Regions from separate parts of the Homo sapiens genome. Here region 1 is linked to region 2. The links are contacts of gene promoters, found by promoter capture Hi-C in human tissues and cell types (Jung and others, 2019). All regions are on one chromosome and are shown on one strand. The core of a region is centred on a gene start or on the middle of the fragment in contact, and the rest is flanking DNA. Distances in the headings are between cores, read along the strand shown.

What was found. The method cuts DNA at HindIII sites, captures the fragments that hold promoters and counts their contacts. A contact is called where the count stands out against the background at its distance.
Region 1: a contact is called between a fragment that was not itself captured here and the fragment with the promoter of NEURL1B in region 2, in 2 of the 25 tissues and cell types used here (liver and thymus).

Annotation. Positions count from the first base shown.
Region 1 is chr5:172,555,563-172,559,685 of GRCh38, forward strand. LINC01944 (long intergenic non-protein coding RNA 1944) reads right to left here and starts at 3,452. Exons shown (of 3, transcript NR_146726.1): 1 at 3,377-3,452; 2 at 2,305-2,533; 3 at 1,163-1,940. The HindIII fragment of the contact is 4,288 bases long and covers 5-4,123 here.
Region 2 is chr5:172,638,628-172,643,377 of GRCh38, forward strand. It overlaps NEURL1B (neuralized E3 ubiquitin protein ligase 1B), which reads left to right and starts at 2,636. Exons shown (of 5, transcript NM_001142651.3): 1 at 2,636-2,810. The coding sequence starts at 2,780. RefSeq lists a silencer at 2,398-2,687. The HindIII fragment of the contact is 6,548 bases long and covers 1-4,095 here.

The DNA.
Region 1 (4,123 bases), core at 899-3,398, 84 kb before region 2:
TAGAATATAAGCAGGCAAAAAAATGCGAAAAGAGAGACTGGCCTAGCCTCCCAGCCTGTATCTTTCTCCCATGCTGGATGCTTCCTGCCCTCGAACACCGGACTCCAAGTTCTTCAGTTTTGGAACTCGGACTGGCTCTCAGCCTGCAGACGGCCTATTGTGGGACCTTATGATCACGTGAGTTAATACGTAATAAACTCCCCTTTATATGTATATCTATTCCATTAGTTCTGTCCCTCTAGAGAACCCTGACTAATACAGCGACCCTAGGAAAACAACTAGGCCTTCCTCTGCCATGCTATTATTACAATGGTGATAATAACAGAATGTGCTGCTGGGGGTTATCAGGAAGATTAAACAGGGTCATGGACGGGAAGCTCTTGGCTGATGCCTGGCACACAGCGGTTTTCAATAAACAGTGGTAATTCCATTTTAGGTGGAATTTGCTTTCTTTCTTTTTTTTGAGATGGAGTCACGCTCTGTCGCCAGGCTGGAGTGCAGTGGCGCGATCTCGGCTCACTGCAACCTCCGCCTCCCAGATTTTCCTGCCTCAGCCTCCCGAGTAGCTGGGACTACAGGCGTGTGCCACCATGCCCAGCTAATTTTTGTATTTTTAGTAGAGACGGGGTTTCAGGCTGGTCTCGTTCTCCTGACCTCATGATCCGCCCGCCTCAGCCTCCCAAAGTGCTGGATTACAGGCATGAGCCACTGCGCCTGGCTGGAATTTGCTTTCAATATTTAGGATATTTAGCTTCCTCTTTAATCATCCAAGTCATCTCACTGTTAAAAAAGAATTTTCTTTTTTGCCTTCTTGCAATGAATCAGAGCCCTGAATGAAGGCAGGGAGAAGGCAAAAAGTATTTCTTTTCAGATCAAGGTTCCCCTTTCCTAGGATGCCTTGGGCTGGGGCGTGACTAATCCTTCTCTAAACAAGTCCATGGCCATGTCCTCTCTTGGGAGAGTGGCTGAGAGCTCAGGCCCTGATGCCAGGTGAGTTTGAATCTGGTTCCAGCTGTGTGGCCATGGGCAAGCCACTTCGCCTCTCTGAGCCTAAGGACAGTATGTACAGCATGGTACTGTTGAGGTGTTATATACAGTGAGATCTACAAAGCTTATCTAGGCACATATTCAGCAGTTGTAAACTATTAGCAACAATTCGTCATTCACTGAATAGATATTTATTGAGCACCTAGAATCTGCCACATGTTGGACTTTACACCACAGACATAGCACTTCATTCAAAAACAGACCCAACAATAAGTAAACAAATACAGACATAGATATGTCAGGGTGCTGAGCACCATGAAGAAACATAAAGCAGGGGAAGGGATAGCGTACGATGGGGGCATGGGTTGGGGTATTTAACTAGGACACTGCAGGAAGTCCTATTGCAAATGGGCTGTTTGAGCAGAGCCCTGAATGAAGGCGGGAGAAGGGAGCCTGTCTGTGATGTCTCCTGACCAGGGTCTGGTGGCGGCAGAGACTGGGACTGCAGCCCCGCATTGGCAGCAGGTCTTCCACGATGGGGTGTTCCTCCCAGCTCCCCCCCTCCCTCCTCCTGCTTCTGCTCCCTTTTGGCAACCCCAAGAGGCTGAGAATGTCCTTGGCCACGCTGCTCCCTGGGGCCAGGGCTGTCTCCCCAAGAAGGAGTCCAGTCTTCCCTGTGGAGCTCATGACAGTATTCCCTGGGAACACAAGCCGCGCAGAGGAGACGCCCCGGGAGTTAACAAAGGCACTGAACTATTTAGCTTAATCTCTGACTTCTCTCTCTTGACCTCTCCTCCAACCAAGTAGATAAATGGCCTCGCTCTGTTCAGTGCTTGGCTCGGGTCACAATAAATCAGCTGGCTGTGTATGCATGCACGCTTACTCTCCCAAGCTGAGGCCAGCCTTCCTGTGATAAACCACCAGTATTTATTCCAGTCTGTCCTGTGTGTGTCCTGGAAACAGAAATAATTTGGGGTTGGGGTGTGTTTTCAGGTTCATGCTCTGCTCTTCTTATCCCACAGAGTTTGACAGAGCTAAGCCAAGCCAGAGTTACGCTGACACACAAAAATGACACAGGCTAAATCACAAACCCTGCAAAGGCTGCTGAGTTTCATCATCCCCGTCCCAAAGGCAAGCCCCTCTTCCCTTGAGTAAGGATACCTAATGTGTGTCAGGGGATTCACCAGATGCAGACAGGAACCAAGCCCCATCCTGCCCTAGAAGAGCCTGCAGGCCGGTGAGGAGGGCAGACAACTTTCACCCAGGACAAAAGTTGCTAAGAGAATAAAGAGACATCACATTTTCTTGAGTACTCACTATGCACCAGGAGTTGTTCCAAGATCCCAATTAGCAGTAACGCATTTAAACCTCAGAGCAGCTCAACATGGTAGAGGTGTGTTCCCATCCACAGCACTGCACTGACACCAGACAGCCTGGGAGGGCTGTGGGAGCCAGACTGGGTATGACTCTGTGGCCTGGGGTCAGATGTCTGCAGCTTCCCAGAGAAGAACACACTTGATTGAGCCTTGTTGGGGTGAAGAAGCACCTGACAAGTGGAAAATAATTCCAGGCAGAAGGACCAGTGTGGGCCAAGAAAGGCACATGTGGTCCTGTGGTGTACTCTCAACCACCCAGGTCCTATTATCGTGCCCATTTTCAGAGATCAGTGAGGTTGAGCAAGTTGCCCAGGGACACACAGGAGACTGTTCAGATTTTCACTCCTGGTCACCAACTACTGGGTCTACTGCCTCCAGACAATGCAGGTCACAGGGGCACATCATATGGGACCTCCTGGAGGGCTCGTTCTCATCTCAGATGTCAGGAGGCACGGCCCAGAACGTGCAGGGCCCTGAGATCTGTGCTCAGCGGCTTGGACTGGAGGCTGAGTAGACCAGTTGTGAGCAGGCTCTGGAGGCTATGGCCCCAGCAGCCCTAGTGGCTTAGCAGGAAGACCACAGCCTGCACCAGCCACTCACTTCCAGACCCCACACCAGAGGCCCCTGAAAGGGGGCAGGATGTGCCTCTGGACTTGCAGACACCCACCCCCCATGACAGTCCTCCAGGGGCCCATCAATCCCCACAGCCTTTCCTTCTTCTTCAAGGGCCTCCGCCCTAGAGAGGGACTTTTTCGTGAGAAAACAGAGGTGCCTTACCCCACCCAGTTCCCCTTCCACACTGGGAAGGCAGGGCTCGGAAGGCAGGGCTCAGACCGCAGGGAGGGATGGAGAAGGGGGAGCTCGGAGGCTGCTGGAATGAACTGGGCTGGGGGTGGGAGGCATTTCTGTAAAGGAGGACTCGAGGCCTCCAGGGGCTGGGGCGGGAGGCAGTCAGGCTGCTCGAGATTCTGGCCACTTGGCGCAGTCATATTTCAGAGCCTCGGCTTCCTCACCTGTAACCTGGGGACAGTGGTCGTTCCTTGAGGCACGCCAGGAGGGGAGAATGAAGCGGAATATGGAAAGGGCCTCCCCTTTAGTAGCTGTTCCCGGCACAAGGAGTTTGGGTGGTGGGTCCCCGGGAGGACCTATTTATTGTTAGTATGAGCCATGACGGCAATCATCTAGCAATGCCTGCTGCGGCACGAGACCAGAATGGCGGACACGGTGGAGAAAGGCAGCCCTGGTTGAACTCAGCCGCACGGGGCTGTTTTCCTTCTGCTGGTGGCTGCGGCTGGGGGGTGGAGGGGGCGGGTGGGGGCTGAGCTCAGCTCTTAGCTGGAGATGTCTCAGCATCTGATGTGACACTGCTGTTGTTTTTGGCTTCACATCCAAGACTCTTTCGCGGCTAATTACTCACTGTCTTGGGAGACTGGCCCAGGAACCTGAGAAAGGAGAGAGGAGAGAGAGTGCCGGTTTCTGTTTTGCAACCAGTTAAGGAGGCAGCAGTGCTGGGACCCATGGACCTGGCTGGAAGGAATAAAGTCTTTTGCACGCTCTCAGCTTTATTGAGATATAATCCACGTACAATAAAATTCACAGTTTGGATAAACCTACTAAAAACCTACAAAACCCACAAAACCAAAAAATCATCACCCCCCCCCATCAAGATTTAGAATCTCTCCAATAACATTTCCTCTTGCCCCATCTGTCAATACCCACTCTGCCCTAACTAATCACTAATCTGCCTTCTGTCACTATGT
Region 2 (4,750 bases), core at 1,386-3,885:
ATTTATGCAAATGTGTATTGAGCACCTGTGTCTGCCAGCCCTGTTCTGGGCACTGGGGTTTCCTAGATGATTACAGCCTTCTTCCTGCCTGCAGGAGCATCCTGTCTGGCAGTGGAGAGGACGCAAAGGTAACAGCTACAACACCTGTCTTGAGGGTGTAATTGAGGGGACAGCACAAAGTGCAGAGGGATCTCAGATGGGTGAGCAACTGCTGTATGTGCCCAAATATAAGGTAATCCAAGTAAAGATTACAGGCAATCCCCATTCTCCCTATGAGAAGATGCACTTTCTTATTGAATAATATAAACTTAATGGGGTGAAGATGAAATAGACATCTACTTGAAATATTTCATTTATTACTTTAGTTATATAAACATATTTGCAATTATTCTCATAGAGAATACTAATATGGAAAGATTGCTTTTGGCAGTTTCAAATTTCAGGAAACAATTTGATTCTAATTCTTTTCTGTGTGGCTTTGACACTAGTGTCACCATCGTGTGTGTTGGGGGCAGCTTTTTACTAGAGCAGGTCCTACTCTCAGAGATCCAGAGGCTAACACACAGCCCTTTCGAATCCACATGTCAGGCAACTGCTGGGCACAGTGTCTCCACCGCAGGTCCAATCCGCATCACATTTTGACAGTAGGGATTCATTTGCTGCAGGTGAGTATTTGTGATCTGCACAACATGGCCACTTACTGAGGTACTCTGAAAGTGGCCTTTAAAAGGCCTGTTCACAACCTCTCACCCTTGCCGTCACAAAGTCATATTTGTTTGCATTGCCTTATCTGAGGAAAATTCCCTCAATTCCCTTTATAATATTGCTGACCTCCATATGCAACCCAATGTCACATAGATTAAAGGAGGATCAGCCAGGTGAGGTGGCTTAGGCCTGTAATCCCAGCACTTTGGGAGGCTGAGGTGGGGGAACCGCTTGAGGTCAGAAGTTTGAGACCAGCCTGGCCAACATGATGAAATCCCATCTCTACTAAAAATACAAAAATTAGCGGGGCGTGGTAGTGGGTGCCTGTAATCCCAGCTACTCAAGAGGCTGAGGCAGGAGAATTGCTTGAACTTGGTAGGCAGAGGTTGCAGTGAGCCAAGATTGTGCCATTCCACTCCAGCCTGGGTGACAGAGTGAGACTCTGTCTCAAAAAAAAAAAGAAAAAAAAAAAGGATCACGCTAACGGACCTTTCTCAAACAGAACTTTGGGGTTAAAAATTAAGTCACTGGGCGAGCACCTGTAATATGAGAAATTAGTAACTCAAATGCAAGGCAATCTTATGTTCAGACATATGACGTCAGGGGGGAGTGGGGAATCAAGGTTTCCCGGAAGTGGAAGCTTGGAGCTGGCCTTAAAGACCCTAGAACCCTCTGGGATGGGTCATGTACTGTAAGCAGAAGGCACCGGAGATGCAGAAGGCTGTCTCCTGAATACCCCGCTTTTATTCGCATAGCTTCAGGCTAGCTTTGCCCTGTACCATTGGAAGATCTTGGGCACCTCTCTTCCACTCTCAGAGCCTCAATTTCCCTATCTGTGAAATGGAAGTAATAATACATATTTCATAAAGTCTCAAGGGATACAAGAGCATGAAAAATAGAATTGAAAAAAACAGCTCATTTGGAATCGGGTCTTCTTGGGGAAGTCATTGCACTTCCTGGGCCTCAGCGTTCCAGCCTGTGAAATGGAGCTCGAGAAGGGCACAGCTGCACTTCCCACTGAGTGTGGTCCAGGTGCCTGAATGAGGAATGCCTGTTACTGCCTCTGCCAGGAACACTCTACCTATCTCTTCTCATGGCCGACGCCTTCTAGTCCATCAGATGGAGCTTATGTGCCCCCACCCCAGATTCTCCCTATGCCCCCAAACAATGTCATCTCCTCACTCTACTGGGATCTGTTTTATTTTCTTCCTGGCTTTGATTATTATATAATGTGATCGTAATTGCTTGTTATTTCTATCTTCAGCATGCCATCTCCAGGGCAGTGGGGACCTTGTCTGTATCTACCCGGCCCAGCACAGTGCCTGGTGCATAGACTGTGCTCAATAAATATTTTAGTGAATGAGCGAATAAATTAATGAATGTGGGTTCCCTCTTCCCAATCTTTGGACACTGGGTTTCTTCTATTCCTCGGTACCTGGCCTAGGGGATAGAAAAGACTCCACCCAAACCCGGGAACCCTGGGTGTACTGTCTCCAAGCCCTTTACATGGTCCCAGGGGCCCGTCTGCCTCTGTGTAAGTTCCCCCGGGGCCGAAGCACTCTCCAAAGAGGTCTGCCGGGGCTAGGACTCGGCCGGCTGGGGCCCCGCGCCTGGAAGAGGGCCTGGCACACAGTGGGCCTTCTCAAAGTGTTAGAACAAATGGGTGACAGGCCAGCAGACTGCCGATCCTGGCACCCGAGGGCACCCAGCTGCCCTGCGCGCCTTCCCGGCCCGGGCGCGGGAGCGGCGAGGGCGGGAGGCTTGGCTGTGCTTCTCCCGCCGCCTGGTGCAAACTTTCAAAAGATGCGGCGGCCGCGGCCCCGCCCCTGCACTGTTGGAGGCGGTGGGAGGCGGGGGCGGAGCCGGCGGGCCCGGGCCGGTGGCTCCGCCTCCTCCTCCCGCAGGCGCCGCCGCCGCCTCCCTCCCGGCTCCCGCCCCAGCTGCCGCCCGCCGGCTCGCCCGTGCAGCTGCGATGCCCCGGAGCGTCGACCCCGGTCCTGGTCCCTGGCCCGCCGCGTAATTAGCCTCCGCGCGCCCAGAGCGCGCCGCCGCCAACGCCGCGCCCGACGCAGCGATGGGCAACACGGTGCACCGGACCCTGCCAGGTACGCCGGGGAGCCCTGCCCGGGAGGCGGGCGCCGGGCTTCTCTCCTCCGGGGGACCCGCTGGGTGACTCTGGAGAGCTACCCCACGGCCCTTGGAGCCCTCGGCTCGCAGCGGGCTGGAGTCTCCGGTACCTCCCGGACCTCAGCTCGGCGCGCGCCCCGCGGCTGGGCTTTGCGCCCCGGGAGGGCGGGTACCGCGTCCTGGTTACCTTGGGGACCCCAGTCCTCATTCTCCCGGCTTTGGCCAGATGCGCAAAAAGGGCCGCTGGGGCGATGCCGCGCGCCCCCTCGCCTTTGTTCCAGCCCGAGGGCGCTGATGAGCAAACTCAAGGCGACCTGGGTGGGGGTGACTGGAGCCGGGCTCGCCAGGGCTTCCGACGGTCAGAAGCCACCCGTGGTGCCAAGACTGCAGCTGCCGAGAGTGAGGGGTGCTCTCAGGGGCACCCCAGTTTCCAGCCTCCCAGCGCCCCCGCGGCACATGCTGCCGTGCTTTGGCCACGTTCCCACGCGCACCCCGGTTGCGCCCCCCTCTGGTGTCCGCTCCACTGGGGACTCCTTCGCCCCCTCGGAGTCGCTGCTGCAGATCGCATCGCCCCCTAGTTAAAATCGCCCCAGAATTTCTGGGACCGGAGTGAGGGGATCCGGAGCAGGTTAACGGGGTAGGAGGAGGCCTTACTGGAAAATACATGGTAATTGTGGGAACAGATCAGCGGTCCCGCGCCCGCGCGTGCCCGTGGAGGTTCAGTGCCCAGCACTTTGCATACCCCAGCTCGGTATGCAAAGAAGCTTCGCGATAAAGATGTGTATCCCAGTTTTACAAATAAAAAAATTGAGTGTCAGAAGAGGTGAAATGACTCACCCAAGGTCACACAGCTAGTAGTGGGAGAATCTGGAGTGGGACCTGTGTCTCTCTGCCCTCCCTCCCCTCACACGCCCAAGTATTTAGAAGTATTTTGTCTTAAGGCTGGGCCTTTGTAGCATCCTTTGGGCAAAAGGTGAGAGGAGTGTGTGTGTGTCTAAAGCACAAAGGCTCGGCTCAATGGGGAAGCAAGTCAGCTGTGAGGTTAATTTAGTGTGAGGTTCTGGAAGAGGGACATATCACCCCATCTCTGCTATAACACTCCCATATAGCTCTCCCTTCTAGGCATTACATGCTCTTAAAGAATAATTTCCCCTGGAGCGGGTTGAAGTGGACAGTGCTGAGCCCAGGATTCCCAGGGTCAGCTTATGGAAGAGGAGCCAACTCCTACTTTACAAGCCTCTGAGCAACTGCACTCAAACGTTCAAATTCCCAGAGAGCTGTAATCATCAGCAGAGTCACCAGCTAGTCAGTGGCAGAGGTGGGATTAGAACCCAGGTCTGCTTACTGGAGGGTGGCCTCTACCTCCTGTGGACAGGGCTATTGCCAGGTTGGGGGAGAACCCACCCGCGGGTCAGGAGATATCTGGGGATGTTGGCAAATAGGGCAGCAGATATTCTCGCCACATAGACACTGGGATGAGGCACCTCGGCACAGGCCCCTTTCCTTGGTTTCTTAATTTAAAAATGTTTATACTATTCTAGTAAAAAGCCATTCTGCCACCTGTGGGTCAGCCCTGGGGTGCGTAAAGGGACAGACACACGCCAGGCAGGCTAAATATAGCTAGAGATTTATGTATTCTCCATCCCTCTCAACTCTCTCTCTGTGGACTGGGCCACCCTAGTCTGGGAGCCGGCAGTTAAGGTTGGTTACCCACTGCAGTGTCTAAGTATGGGGAATTCAGACTCTTCTCTGGGGATTGAAGCTTGCACTGAGTTTGAGGAAGGGGTCAGAACCGGAATTCCTGAGTCACATCGGGTGGCAGATGCCAAGAATATGAAGGGCCGTTAATTGTTTTCCGACCTACCAGTATGAGTTTCTTGCACACCCTGTGCTGTTTTTTGTACCTCTGTGCTTGGCA